Linked DNA regions of Homo sapiens: region 1 is linked to region 2. Evidence: promoter capture Hi-C in human tissues and cell types (Jung and others, 2019). All regions are on one chromosome and are shown on one strand. Each heading gives the region's core, a stretch centred on a gene start or on the middle of the fragment in contact. The rest is flanking DNA. Distances are from core to core; before and after follow the strand shown. Region 1 overlaps KCNB2 (potassium voltage-gated channel subfamily B member 2). Region 2 holds the start of KCNB2 (potassium voltage-gated channel subfamily B member 2).

Evidence for each region. The method cuts DNA at HindIII sites, captures the fragments that hold promoters and counts their contacts. A contact is called where the count stands out against the background at its distance.
Region 1: a contact is called between a fragment that was not itself captured here and the fragment with the promoter of KCNB2 in region 2, in 3 of the 25 tissues and cell types used here (H1 embryonic stem cells, dorsolateral prefrontal cortex and hippocampus).

The regions. Positions count from the first base shown.
Region 1 is chr8:72,620,071-72,627,445 of GRCh38, forward strand. All of the region lies in intron 2 of KCNB2 (potassium voltage-gated channel subfamily B member 2), which reads left to right. Among named protein-coding and RNA genes, the nearest start is that of KCNB2, 87 kb to the left of the region's middle. The HindIII fragment of the contact is 3,649 bases long and covers 1,889-5,537 here.
Region 2 is chr8:72,532,130-72,539,881 of GRCh38, forward strand. It overlaps KCNB2 (potassium voltage-gated channel subfamily B member 2), which reads left to right and starts at 5,096. Exons shown (of 3, transcript NM_004770.3): 1 at 5,096-5,756. LOC105375897 (a long non-coding RNA gene) reads right to left here and starts at 1,247. Exons shown (of 3, transcript XR_929042.3): 1 at 516-1,247. RefSeq lists silencers at 4,686-4,815, 4,826-4,875, 4,886-4,945, 5,106-5,155. The HindIII fragment of the contact is 6,044 bases long and covers 434-6,477 here.

The DNA of each region.
Region 1 (7,375 bases), core at 2,463-4,962, 87 kb after region 2:
TGTGGTGAATGAAATATATTATTAAAATTAATTTCACCTGTTTACATCTACTTTTAAAAATACCTCTTCCAAAAAAGTTAGTCTATTTCCATCACATAGCACTACTTTAGAGAAACAAAAGTTTCTGGTTACTCTACAGGGAAACAGTTAAAATATAATGTTGCCAAGGAAGACAGAAATCCAACAGGCAGTTTAGATGTTCTGCCAGAGAGCCTGATCATTGTTTCTCCAGAATCTACTGCAAAGACACCTCCTGAAAAGAAGAGGCCGTTTTATAGCACATGCTGATTCAAACCTGGGTCCCTCTTCTGCAAGATCAACCATATCAGTTAGTGCTATCTAGAAGTAGTTAATAGATCTTAAATTACTGGAACTAAAGGATACAAATGAACTAACATGTGCAGGAGAGGGAGACATTTCAGTGCCCTCTGAATCTTGTCTGTGATAAAGCCCACTGTCCCTTTCTAACTGAAGCCTTTCCCTTTAGCAACATTGTTGTCCAAAGTTGGAAGGCCTTCCAGTACTGTATTTTATTTTATTTTATTTTATTTTTTTGAGATGGAGTTTCGCTCTTGTTGCCCAGGCTGGAGTGCAGTGGTGCGACCTTGGCTCACTGCAACCTCTGCCTCCCAGGTTCAAGTGATTCTCCTGCCTCAGCCTCCCGAGTAGCTGAGATTACAGGTGCCTGCTACCACACCTGGCTAATTTCGTGTTTTTAGTAGAGACGGGGTTTCACCACGTTGGCCAGGCTGGTCTCAAACTCCTGACCTCAGTTGATCCACCCGCCTCGGCCTCCCAAAGTGTGGGGATTACAGGCATGAGCCACTGTGTCTGGCCAGTACTACGTTTTAGATACATTAATTCATTGGATTACGTTTTAGGCCCTTAGACACAAGGGAATGTGGTCTCTGGACTTTTGTCTTTCTGAGAATTTTTTGTTTTTCTGTGAAACCTAACCATCTGGTTCGTGAATATTCCAGAATAGGAAATATTAATATAAAAGTGATTCTGTTTATATGAGTCTTCACTTTTGATACAAGAAATAAGATCACAAGTTTATGGGAATGTGTTTTTAAAAGAATCCTGCTAACATATGTACATTTCATCTCTTAACCCTTTCTGACCTGTATATTTTTATTTGTTCCAAGTGACTCAATCCCAACGTGTCAGTAACGACCTCCCATACATACCAAGAAGCTTCTGCCATCTGGTGGTATATGTGGAGGACGTGGTAGTCAAGATCCGCAGAAGGATCAAATCCCCCAGTCCAGATCCCAGCTTCCAGATCTGTTTTCTCAAAAAGCTTGAAAGATGGGATGGAGTATAACAACTTGACACCATCATCAGTTCAGCTAATGGTTGTTTCTCTTGCTTCCCAGAAAGTTGGTTTGTTTTGTCTTTTTATACCATAGTAATGACATCACTTGACTTGAACATTTCCCTGCACTCATTTTTAATTATTTATTTATAATTTTTTATTTTTAATGTTCGTGGGTACATAGTAGGTGTATATAGTTATAGGGTACATGATATGTTTGGATACAGGCATGCAGTGTGTGATAATCACATCATGGAGAATGGGCTATCCATCCCCTTGAGCCTGCACTCATTTTAATTAGCAGTCATTTTCTTTTTACAGAAATAATCTGGCGTTAACACCACAGTTTTAATAAAATTTAGACTAAAATTCTCAATGAATTACACAAGTAAAATAAGGATCTAATGAAATCTGTGGCATGATTTCACTATCCTTTGAAGCTGATTTTGAAAAGTTGTCTCCCAGTTTAATGTTGAAAGCTGGTCTTCATACATCTCATAAGTGTTTGTAGTATTCATGTAACCTCAAGCATAGGCAACATTTTCCTATTTCATGTTATTTCACCTGCTCTATTAGACCCTCAGACAAATTATATATGGTTAACAGTTTGCCCTTTAAAATATGTTTGTATTATCTATAATCAATTTTTAAAAAATCGTTTTGTCAATTAGTGTATATTTCATGAGTATCTATGATGTTACCAAGCCCTCTGGGAAATGTTGGGGATAAATTGATAAATAAGATAACAGTCTAATCCTTATGGAATGTACACAGAAAATAGACAGTGTTTGACTTTTCTGAGGCTTTTTTTGTTCTGAAAAATAGGAATCAAAATGTTTGCATAGTTTCAATAGGTTATAGACATTTTAAGTGGCGTATAAGTGATTTCAGAAGAAGAAAAGCCTACCTCTGTAACTAGTCTTCTCAATAACATCTACACAGTCTTTCACTGTAATCCAAGAGTATTGAGACTAATTGGAGCATTTCTTGACCCTCCAATAATAGGAGACATTCAAACATGGTATTAACATAATCTGCCATCATAGAGAACAGCTGAATTAATGTGATATGAATATCATGATCAACCTTGATGGAATAAACATCTTCGTACAGCTGCACAGTGAGATGGGGATGAAAGCCCTTTTTCTGTGTCAAGCTTCCAAAAATGGTTAATTAATCTGAATACTTTAGGTAAATTAAAAAAAAGAATGGAATGAAGAAGGATGTGAATAATCTAGATAATTAAACTCTACTGTGCACCTTCTTTGAAAGTTAGTCTAGGGTTTATGCCATAGGATTATGTAAGAATCTGTTAAGAGAGCTTATTGTTTAATTGTTCTGGTCTATATAACAGTGTTAACTAAAACATAACCTGTATTCAGTAGAATTTGGTTTGAAGTGGGTTTATCTCCGACCCCTATCTACTAAAATGCTCCATGCATCTTAGTTACCTGTAAGAAAGTCCCGTAGTAAAGCTCTGAGAGCCCCCAGACACCAGCACTTCTGTTTGGGATCTGTTCCAGCTCCTGCTAGAACTTGCCATGTGGTTTTATTCAAGACACCATCTACTTGAGCTCAAATTTCTCTATCTGTAAAACAAGGGAGTGGGCCCCAAATTCTGATTTTACCAAAATCAGAATACAATAAGAAGGAAACTGAAGGTTTACAAATATCATTTTTGGTGTGTCTTCATTGACTGAGTGTTAATTATACTGCCATTTCACTGCAGCATTTCTGTTGTAAAGACTTCTGTTGCAGTCAGTCAGAGTCAATCAGTGTTGAGGTTAACTTTCTCTGGCTGTATTGATTGGGTGAAAGTTATCCCCAAAGCTGGAGGAAGCAAATAAATTCCTTCTATCAACTTAAATTGTAGCGATGCCTGTCACAATTTAGGGGCACTTCTTGCTATTTGCCTTTCTGGAGTTGTTTTGATTCCAGGAGTACAGAGACTTAACTCCAGCTTTGAAGGGGAGGGTTGGAGACGATTAGAGGGAGATACCTCTGAGCCCAAGGAAGCAGCATCAAGGACAGAGTGGGGAAGAAAACCAAGTGTCACTTATTGAAAAGCAAAGGCTGTGATCTGCAGTTTCTGGTTTGTTCTGATAGAAGACTTTGGAACCCAAACCATCTGGACACATTTCAGGGACAATAAAGAATTGAAAAAGGTTTTACAAATAGAAGGAAGGTGGATAGGTTATCAGGGGAAAATATGAGTCACAACCTAGTGAACTAGTTTAGAGGAACCAGGCTCCCAGCACACAGGAGGCCTTGACCAGATTAAAAAGATAACTCATTTGTCACATTTGTCTTCCTGGTCATATTCAAAAAGCTTCACCTGTATTCGGTTAATTAATTCTCATGACAACCACTACAGGTAGGTCTTTACTCTCCTTATTTAATACATGAGAAGATGGATTTATAAAGAAGTTAGGTGCCCCAAATCACAGTTGTGAAGCATCAGACCCACTGAGGCTGGCCCCAAAGACAGGCTCTCATTGGTACAAATGTCCTTTCTGGCTCCAGCTTTCTTAGTTCCCTCATGATCACCCCTTTCTTTCATGTCCCCCCAGATGCTTGAGTGCTTCCTGATCGGTGCATAAGCATGTGTTCATTAGTTAAGAGTGCTTATGCTGGTAGGTAGCTTATCTACAAATCGTTACTAGAGACGGAATTAGGAGCCATGCCTCCTCCTCATTTCTCTACTCACTCTGCTCTTCTGTTTACATCAATCAAATCTCTATAATGTTCATATTAGTAAATTACTTAAACATAAGCTATTTTACAAATATATGCTAAGTTCTTAAATATCTTCATTCTGCCTCATGCATGCTTGGCTTTCTGTGCTAGTGTCTCAGTCAAAGCTATGGAATTGGATAGTTCGGGTAGAAAACTTCTCCAATTATCTATATGTTCAGAAAACTGGGAAAACATCCTCGAAGAAGAAGCACACATTAAGTGCCTTTTTCCTGACAGATTTTAGCCTACCACAGGATTTCAACCTTTTGTGCTTGGGGAAGTACTTTCTTCAACAACAAAAAAGATAACATTATGGTTCTGTGGTACATTGTGATATCTCTCAAACCTTCTTCATAAGCCTGAGATGGCTTTTAGCAAATGGTTTTTGCTCAGAGATATGGGTTTTTTTTTTCATTGAACAAGGAATGGAAAATATGCTAATTATAATTGAATAATGGACTCAAAATTTAGATTAACCCTACCTGATCACACTAACAAGATACTGTGAGTCTGCATTCATTTGTTTGGTCAACACATCATATTGAGCATTGCAGTAGGCAGATTGATATGGCGGTCCCCATGACCCCCACCTCCTGGTGTTCAAATGTGGATGGGGCCTGTGACTTCCTTAAAAACAACAGAGTAGGGCAAAGGCAGTGGGATGTACTTGGTTATATCACATAACATCGCAGTGCCCCTCCTGCTGGAGCCTCTCCTTGCTGGCTTTGAAGATGCCAGCTGCCATGCTGTGGGCTGCCCGTGTTGGGAGCCCACCTAGCCAGGAGCTGAGGGTGGCCTCTTAGAGCTGAGGGAAGCCTCCAGCCAACAGCTAGTGAGAAATAGAAGTCCTCAAGATCACATACATTAGGAACTGAATTCCACCAACAAAAGCAGATCCTTTCCCAGTCAAGCCCCATAGGAGACCCCAGCACCAACCAACAGACACCTTTATAGCAGCCTGGTGAGACACTAGCGGGAGACCCAGTGAAGCCGTGTCCAGACTCCTGACTCGCAGAAGCTGTGAGATGCCAGGCCTCTGTTGTTTTAAGTCACTGAGTTTGTGGTAATTTGTTATATAGAAACAGGAAACTAATACAAACACCCTCAGTATTCCAGACACATTTTGAGGAATTAGAAATGGAGCAGTGAACAAAATGAAGTCCCTGTTCTGAGGAGCTTGTATTTCAATAAATCTAAAACATAGACATTTTAGAAGCTTTAATTCATCTCAATTATAATTTCAAAGTAAAAACCTCAGTGATCCCAAAATGGGAAAGAAAAATTTACTTAAAATATTTATTTTTAACTTTTATTATTATTTTTTGAGACAGAGTCTCATTCTGTCACCCAGGCTGGAGTGCAGTGGCGCAATCACAGCTCACAGCAGCCTTGACCTCCTGGGCTCGGGTGATCCTCCCACCTCAGCCTCCTAAGTAGCTGAGACTACAGGCGTGTGTGACCATGCCCAGGTTATTTTTGTATTTTTTCTAGAGACAGGGTCTCACTTTATTGCCCAGGCTGGTCTTGAACGCTTGGGCTCAAGTGATCTTTCTGCCTCGGCTTCTCAAAGTGCTGGGATTGCGGGCATGAGCCACTGCACCCAGAAAAATGAGCATTTCTTTTCTGGTCCAAAGGAGGAAAAATAATGCTGGACATATCTCAGCATTGACTTACCAGGTGATCTTATTCAAGGAAAGAATGGGAGGACAGGGGTTGTCAGCTGTAGAACACGAGTTCTCCATGGGCTGAAGCTTTAGAATCAGAACTTTGCAGTCCCATGATAATGCAATAGTGAGATACAGTATATCTCACTATTTCAAAAAAACAAAAAAAGATACTGAAAAGCTTAAATACATAACTGCCAAAAGTCACCAAAATAAGAAAAGCAATTTCAAAATCAGCTTATTGATTTGATTTCTATAGAAAGACCATTGTCTAAAAGAAAACCTAGGATTCATTCAGCATTTTCAGAAGATCAAAGTCACATTCATGAACAACATGTATGTTAGTTCTAGTGTCCAGACAAGACAGCTAAGAAGGGCTTGAATTTCCACACAAGCTACCTGGCTTTATAAGTAGCCCCAGAATGCCCAGGTACACGGGCCACAGAATGCCCAGAATACACAGGCCACAGTCCACCCTAGGCCCAGTGTCCAGCAAATTTGAACTGCCAGTCACTTGGGGGACCAGGAGCCTGTACTGTATTTGGGAAACCACAAATCTAAGGCCACATTCTATAGAATAGACTTAAAGGTTTTCTTGAAATTAATATGTAATCAATCACACTCAGAATATATTTGGGCAGCTTATATGTGCAATGTGTTACATGCAGCTAAATGACTCTAACATTTCTATTGCAGTGTACAGAAGGTGTTCATAGAGCTAGCTCTTGTTGAATTGCAGTTATGGTTGTTAATAACATGTGTTGAGCACTAGTTCTGTCTAGACATTGTGCAGAGCACTTTGATATGTTTTTAATTTTATTTTCTTAAAAGGATTATTGTCCCCATTGAATAGAAGAGACTAAACCTTAGAAAGCCTAAGACACATACGCAAGATCCAACAATGAGAAAATGTTGGGGTTACAATTTTAATTCAGGCAGTCTGGTTGCAGAACTGGTGCCCTTGACCACTATGCATGGCACCTCCTGTTAATGTGACAAGCACAGTGTCAGATGCTGTGTTCTTTCATTTGTTCTTTATAACAACCCTGCAAAAGGTATTTGGGGGTCATGGGAAGAGCCTTGAAAAACTCTTTCAAGTAATTAGTTTAAGAAAGAGGCAAGATATCGACATGCATCTTCTGATGCCATAATCACTTTTTACATAACCAGGCTAACTGGGGGCTCTAAGGGCTATTGTTCTAAGTAGGAAACCATTGTGTGTTAATATTTATCAAATATTTAGAAGATCAATCTACTTCCAAGACCTTCCCCATCAGTTTGATAATGCCTAAAATTCTAAAAGCTCATGCCAAATTTCTTTACCTTAAAGCTTTGAAATTATTCCTAGTCATTTACCCTTATCAGTCATGTATACTTTAGTAAGAATAAGTTTATCTCACTCATTCATGAAAGCAGATTTTTATGGAGAAGAGGATGCAAAAACTTGAGGATTGCAAATGCTGAATCTTCTTTAGAGAAGGAGGTCACTAGGAGTGAAGAAAAGGGCAGGTGATATTTAGCCTAATGGCTATCAGAGATATTAAGAACACTTTCTGGAGGTCTCAAATTTGATTTTTTTCTGTATAACTAATCATATTTTCTATCATAGACAACCTTGTGTATAACCTAGAAATGATAGAAAGTATATGATCCAAAA
Region 2 (7,752 bases), core at 3,846-6,345:
ATGGCTGAAATTAGCCAATACCTATAAAGAATTTAGACCAGTGACTGACATGTAGTAAGGCCTTTTATTTATCTTTGACTATACAGCACAATTACATAAGAGAGATGGGACTTGAATCTGACTAGGAATCCAATCCTTGTTCCACTACGTCTTGGAATAATGTGGCTAAATTTCAGATTCTACGTGGCATGTTTTTAACATTTCCAGTTCACTGGCCCCAGAAACCCCTTACCCTAAGCTTCATGGATTCCTAAGAACAAACGAGGCTGCTTAGACACTAATGATATCTGCAAATTGGTCTAAGTGTGGATTCAAACATAATACCTATAGTCATGCTATTACATGGCAGAAATACGTGTTTAAACATCTGGCATTTTTCAGAAAGTTCATACTCAGAATAAGAACTGTTAAAAAAATACAAATACAGTCAGTCTGGAGCTTATCTCTTACTTTAAATCATCAAAGGACAGCCAAATCTCAACTAACTATGAAAGAATCAATGAGATAGTACTTACCTCCTCAAGGAAGAACACACAGACAGCTCATTTATTTTTCAAACCTTCACAACAATGTGCTAGTGTAGGATTTCAGTGGCTAAGATTCTGTGAGTTGCTCAAACTTGCTCAAGCTTTCCTATATTTTTATTTAGAAGAAGAAAAGAAGGCATATTACATTTAACAATATGACAAATTCTGTGTACCCTTCAGTGGTCACTTTCTTGTATGACAATAAGTACCATAGTAATATTTGCCCTTATAAAAAAATAAATTTAAAAAGTACAGTCCCATTCTGTGTATATACGTGGTTTATGATTAAGAATGAAAGTAGTGTCTTCATGGTTCTGATAGTTGAAGATTAATATCTACCCTTTTTTGTATAACCAGTTTATACCAAATAAAACAAAACCTGCCTCTCAACTCAGAGATAACTCTTTTAGCTTGTTAATATACATCCTTCTAGAATATACACACATACCCACTCACAACACATTTACATATATGTTTATGTTTCTCCCTTTAATGGGATTCACGTTATTTTTTAATTTTTTTTTTTACTTTAATAGCTTTAGAAGTATAAGTGGTTTTTGGTTACACGGATGAATTGTATAGTGGTGAAGTCTAAGATTTTAGTACACCCATCACCGGAGTACTGCACTTTGTACCCAATGAGTAGTTTTCTATTCCTTACTTCCTTCTTACCCTTCCCCCTTCTGAGTCTCCAATGTCCATTATTCCATTCTGTATGCCTTTGTGTACCCATAGCTTAGCTCCCACTTATAAGTGAGAACATACAGTATTTTGCTTTCCATTACTGAGTTACTTCACTTAGAAAAATGGCCTCCAGCTCCACCCAAATTACTGCAAAAGACAATATTTCATTCTTTTTTATGGCTGAGTAGTATTCCATGTTATATTTATAGCACATTTGCTTTATCCACTGATTGGTTTATGGGCACTTAGGTTGGCTCCATATCTTTGCAATTGTGAATTGTGCTGTGATAAACATGTTGTTGCAGGTGTATCTTTTTTTTTATTGGTTTTGCTCAGATACTTCATTCAGCCAAAAAATACCAAGAATCTATTATGTTTGGTATTGTGTACAAATACATATATATTTTTATACACCAGCATATGATACATGAGGAAACACATTCTTCCTCTACATTGTATCTAATGATACGCATAAGGCTATTTCAGGTTAAATTTATACTACAGTTATTTATTTTACCAAGCATTATGAAGAAAGCATTTTGACATCCCAAACAGATATTTCTCTCCTTTACTGTAATATAATTTAGTCATAACTCAAGGTAATTCTGAGAAATTGAAATACAAGCAAAAGGAACAGTTCCGTAAATATCAATAAACAAAAGACTTAAAGGGAGCAATGTGAAAACATGTCTGACTTTTCAGCTAGATCATTTAAATTTTTTCTTTGGCAAACAACTGAACAAAACCCCAAATTACCCAAATTTACTAAGGAAGTGGAGCCACATGATGATAATCAACACAAGAGTCTCTGCAGCCATCCGGAATTCAAGCTGTGCATACGGAGAACTCTGCTATTCCAAACAACTTGTATACCAGGGGTGATTCTCTATAATCCATTTGAGCTATGAGTCATTTAGGAAGCAAAATTAGACTTATTTTCCCCCCAAAGATTGTTTTTACTTGTCATTGCATGCTCATATACAGGGCTCAGAGCTGATGGATAACTTACTCCTAGTACCCTGCTTCCCAGAAATGGAGATAGCAGCATTGTGTTTTACCCAATGGATAATTTACTCTCTTGACTAATGACCACTTAGATAGTAGGCAAAAGGATTCAGATTTCTAAAATCTAATGGAAATTTAAGGTAAAAACTTAAACAAATATTTGTCAAATTATTAAATTCTTAGCGAGGCGATCACTAATGTTGATACAGAGCTACTAAAGAAAGATTTTTGGCACCCCTAAATTTATAAAAAGTCATGTTAAGTTTAGGCACACTCAAAATTAATTTGAGGAATTCTAGCCTAAAACTATTTTGTAAATTTCATTCAATTAACAAATATTGAGGGACTGATAAAAACTACAAAATAAATCTTTGTTAGATGAATAGGTATCTCTCACATGTGTGGCTTTGGGTTAGACGTAAAGAATGCAAACCATAAAGGGACATGGAATTGTTTCTGGAGGAACCCAGAATTTAAAATGTTAAGAAATGTACACAGTAAATACATGGTATAGGAAGTGGAAGGTGATATATGTCTTAAAAAGATTGCTGGGACATTGTGCGACGGACACCAAAAGGGAGAAGTCATGGAAGAGGCAGAGTTTGAAGTGACTCTTCCAGGACTGTAATGCTTTGGACGTAAGACCTGGAGAAGGGTATCCCAGATACTCGCATGCAATGGCACAGAGGTAGGCAGATGCTGTCTGGTAGGAAATGGGACACCAGGGAATATTTGTGAGTAGGGAAATGATATGGTCAGGGTTTTGCGTGAGGAAAAGCAATTGGCAGAAAGTATTTAAACTGTGTGGGAGGGTGGAAAGGATGGGCGGGAGGGAATGGACTGCCTGCAGGTCCCTGGAAATGCAGAGCTGGAGCTTGGGACCAGGCCAGAGTTGGGGATAAGAGTTTGGGAATCTGGGTGTCCTCTTCCTAGTGTTCATAATTGAGAAACCCCAAGAAGAGCAAAGGGCAGGGCAGTTTCTTGCTGGAGGGTGACAACATCAGAAGGGCCAACCTCCATGCTAAATATCCCGCCCAACATCTGACACCTCAAAACAACAACAACAACCAAAACAAAACAAAAACCCACCACAAAACCAAAAACCCTCAGTACAAAGTAAGGCCACCTCCCCATAGCGAGGTGGGAAGTCAAGGTGCAGAGAATTAGAGAGGATAGCGCATTCCAGGGCATATCAGGGCTAAAACTAAGGCAAGGATGACATGGAGTATATTTAAAACAGTGTACTTGGTTCCAACAATGATAGACTGGATTAAGAAAATGTGGCACATATACACCATGGAATACTATGCAGCCATAAAAAATGATGAGTTCATGTCCTTTGTAGGGATATGGATGAAACTGGAAATCATCATTCTCAGCAAACTATCGCAAGGACAGAAAACCAAACACCGCATGTTCTCACTCCTAGGTGGGAATTGAACAATGAGAACACATGGACACAGGAAGGGGAATATCACACACCGGGGACTGTTGTGGGGTGGGGGGAGGGGGGAGGGATAGCATTAGGAGATATACCTAATGCTAAATGACGAGTTAATGGGTGCAGCACACCAACATGGCACATGTATACATATGTAACAAACCCACATGTACCCTAAAACTTAAAAGTATAATAATAATAAAATTTAAAAAAACACTCAATAAACAGAAGATACAAGGAAAAAATAAATAAATAAATAAATAAATAAATATAAATAAAACAGTGTACTTGGAACTTCCTCAACAGCCATCCTTCTTGGTCTATAGAAACTCAGGAGTCCCAGCTTTAAATAGACTTGTCACGGCCTGCGTTCGTTTCTAAAAGGTGTTTTAAGCTACTTTGTTTTCCTGAAAGCCCCTGTAACCGTGCCAGCTGTCTCTATTTCGTGCCTGTGAAGGAGCACTGGGGTCAGAAATATGTAAGGCTCAGTGTTATTATTCAAGTTCATTGTCTTTACCGAGCCCTGGAAGTGGGTACAGGTCTAAGTGTTCACCCTGCGGCCTCGCCAAGGGGTAACTTGGCATAGTTTTCCAGCTGGTAAGTTGATAGGCAAAGGAAAGAAAGAAGGGTATGAAGAGCGCCCCCGTGAGAAGCAAGGGTTAAGGTTGCCACGGACCCGGCTTTACCCTCAAACCCAGGAAAGCCGGGTCACTTGGGGCTAGGGACGGCCCCCGAGCGAGCGGGGCTGCAGGTGCCGCGAGGAAAGTCAGATCTTATCTGCGCTCCTAGTTATCTCCGCAGCTCTTTCTCCAGGAAAATAATCCTGGCACCACCACTCAGGAGCCATCTGTCTTCGCCCCAGTTCCCCGGGGTCGAGCAGTCAGCCCAGGGTCAGGGTCCTGCTGTGGGCGGGCGGGAGGACAGCCCTGCAGTTGGAAGCAGAAGGGCCGAGGGAATCCCGCGAAGCCGCCGGAGCGCGTCGCGGCGGGGCCTCCCGGGGCTTTCCCGGCCCCGGGTGCGCGGCAGCCGCGGGGGCTGCGTCCCTCTAGTCCAGTGCAGCCGGGTGGGAGCTGCAGAGCGAAGCAGGTGGGTGTGGAGCCAGGCCCGGGGCAGCAGGAGTGGCTGGCGCGCGGAAGCTGAGGGAGGCACCCCGCCGAGGTGTGGGCGGTGCCTGCCCGCGCCCCAGCCGCGCCCTGGGCACCAGAGCGCTGTCCCCGGCCGAGCGCACAGCTCCGGCGCCGCGAGGCAGAGCCCCGGCGTCCCCGGCGGTGCGCTGCCGGCTCGCGCAGCCCAGCCATCCCGCCCCGCCGCCCACCTTGACAGCCGGGAGCGCTGAGGAGGAAGAGGGGGAGGGGGAGGAGGAAGAGAAGGCGGCGGCCGCTCCAGCCCGCGGGTGCGCGGAGCGCGGGAGGAGGCGGAGCGGGAGGCTGGGGTGGCCGCAGCCCTGTGTGCGCGCCGGGCCGGCTAGCTGCGGGGCGGGGGAGCGGCGCCCCAGAGCGCCCCGCCTAGCCTCCCGCGCGCAGCCTCTACCCTGCTCCGCCACAGACACACACCCACCAAGCACCCACCGCCCTCCGCCCTCCGCCCTCCGCCCCCGCGGCCGCCGCCGCCGCTGCGCCTCGGGCAGCCCCAGCGAGCGGCAACTCCCGGGCTGGCGCGGCTCGCTTTCTGGCTCCTTCCGCGCGGCGAGCTCAGCCCCGCTCGATTTTTCCTCTTCTGTTCCAGCCCTCTCTTGTCTGGGTGGCTGTGGCGGCGGCAGGGGGATGGGGACCCCGTGTGGGGAAGGGGTTGAAGATCGATGAAGATTATTGTTCTTTTAAAGGATGCCTTAGCTTCCTCCCGCCGCCTTTCCTCTGAGCCTTCCTACTAGAGACCGTGAACCAGAGTCAGGGATGTAAAGACAGGGGGAAAGCACGCCGGGAGCTCCAGCCAGCCGGGGAGACCCTCCTCTCTGTGGAGGGGAGGGGGATTTCCAGCGACAGGTCATTGGCGAAGGGGATCGTCGCGGGGAGAGGCTCCCCGGAGGGAGCGGGGAATCCCACAGCCCTTTGTGGTGCCCGAGCCCGTGCCGCCTGCTGAGCGGGGTCTGTGGGAGCTAGGTAAGTGGCGGGGGCATTGCTGCTCCCCGAAGGGGGTCTTCCTTTAAGAATGAATCATCGCGGCAGCCTAGCCAGACTTGAGTTGCTAAAGGAATTGGAAACTGCCATATGGCGCCCAGTGGACTTACACACAAAGCTGACTTAGCCCTGAGAGGGTTTTTAATGTCAGGCTCCTTCCCGGTGGGGAAGGCGCTCAAGTATTAGCCCCTGAAAAGCTTCCCAGCAGCCTGACTGGGAAGGGATGGGGATGTTATTTCTAGGAGCCGAGCTCTTGTTGCCTTCCGTCCATTTGTTGGTAAATGCCACACTCACATGCACACACTTGTGGGACTGGATTTAGGGAGTGTGATGTCTCTGATGTATGAACGATCCTCAGAACACAGAGACATGCGTGCATTTTATTCTTCAAGCGGTGCGCGGTCTCCGTTCTGTAGCACGATTCCTGAGAGGGAGAACGGGTCTCTAAGGAAAGAGCTTCATGGCTGTTTCCAACACACTCTGCTAGGGGACTTGGGAATACGTTTGCCCTGAATAGCACCAAAAGACATCGACCATTTGCCTCATCATTTGCTCCCGATGCTTAATGATCCTCTTCAAAATAGTATGCCGCCATCCATTTTCTCGAGTTGTGAGCATTTATGCGTATTCATTCATAAAAACTGTCAGTGTGCAATATGCACAAACATGCCATTTATGCAACATTTATGACTGCACATGTGTTTCAACAATAAGTAATAATGCATACAAGATTACATTGAAAAAAATTTAGTATGCACATACACTGGGTTAATTCCGCGCAGGTTCAACATTCCTTCTAATCAAGTTGTGTAGTAATGTCAAGATTTTAAGTATCGTATCACATTTTCATTTTTGCATTGATTAATTTTTTTATTTTGTTGGGAATCTGATTTTTTGAAACTGAGGGAAAGGAAGAGTAAGCATTTTATTGTTATTGTTAAATGTGTAGTATAGTGTGGGTCGGAAGTCTCTTGGTTTATTTACCAATAAACAGCAATCAATATATTACATTTCATAGGACAAGCGAGAGATAGATTTCGGTCAAAAATCTTGTCTTACCTGTCAGTGCTGAATAACTTACAGGAAAGATTTTGTAAAAGAGGGTAACATTCTAAAGTTACATATCAAGAAAATAAAGTTTTGTTTTATCTATTTCACTCTTTAGGGGCATGTGTGTGTGTGTGTCAATAAATATAAAGTTGTCCAAAGCTTAACGTAATACATGAATAAAACCCATCTAGACTAGACATCTAGGCTAGAGAGTTCTTTGTTCTTAAATTAACTCAAACAGTTTAGTAATTTGGCACATTACACATGTGTATGCGCATTTAATTGCCGTTTGAGGTGGTGTTTTTAATTTAAGGGCATGGATAAAGTGCTTACTTGTGTGATTGCATGGACTCTGAAAATACTGAAGGTCCAACGTAGAAATAACTTTCTTCCCCACTGAAGGAAAAGTATCCTTATCACCTAGAAGAGTTAATATGCTTCCACAAAGTAAATACCATAATCCCCTCCCTCTTGCCTTAAGGTTTAGAACAATTGTTTATCACAAATAGAATTCTGTATAATGTACCCTTCTTCCTTTTCTGGCACTACTCAGACTTTTGGAGAAAGAACTTGGCAGTTCTGTTTGTTTTCTTGCTCCTTTAACCTTCACCTTTCCCTCTCCATGTTAGTGTTCTCAAATCTCCCTCATACACAAACCCACACGTATCGACTCCAGAAAAATCACTCTCCTGCCTGCCACTTTGAGAGTTCTCATCTCACATCTTTTCTATTGCCTCTCTTTTCTTTTCTTCTGTTTTTCCAAATAGAATCAATCCATGCATCCGTTGAAACTATTTTGCATTTCACTGTTCTCCAAGTCCAACAATTCAACTTTCCAAGCATACATATTTACTGAATATTCAGAGGAGTTAGTAGAAATTATTACTTTATCCATTCCCTTCTGTTTGGCTTTTAAAACTTCATAGTT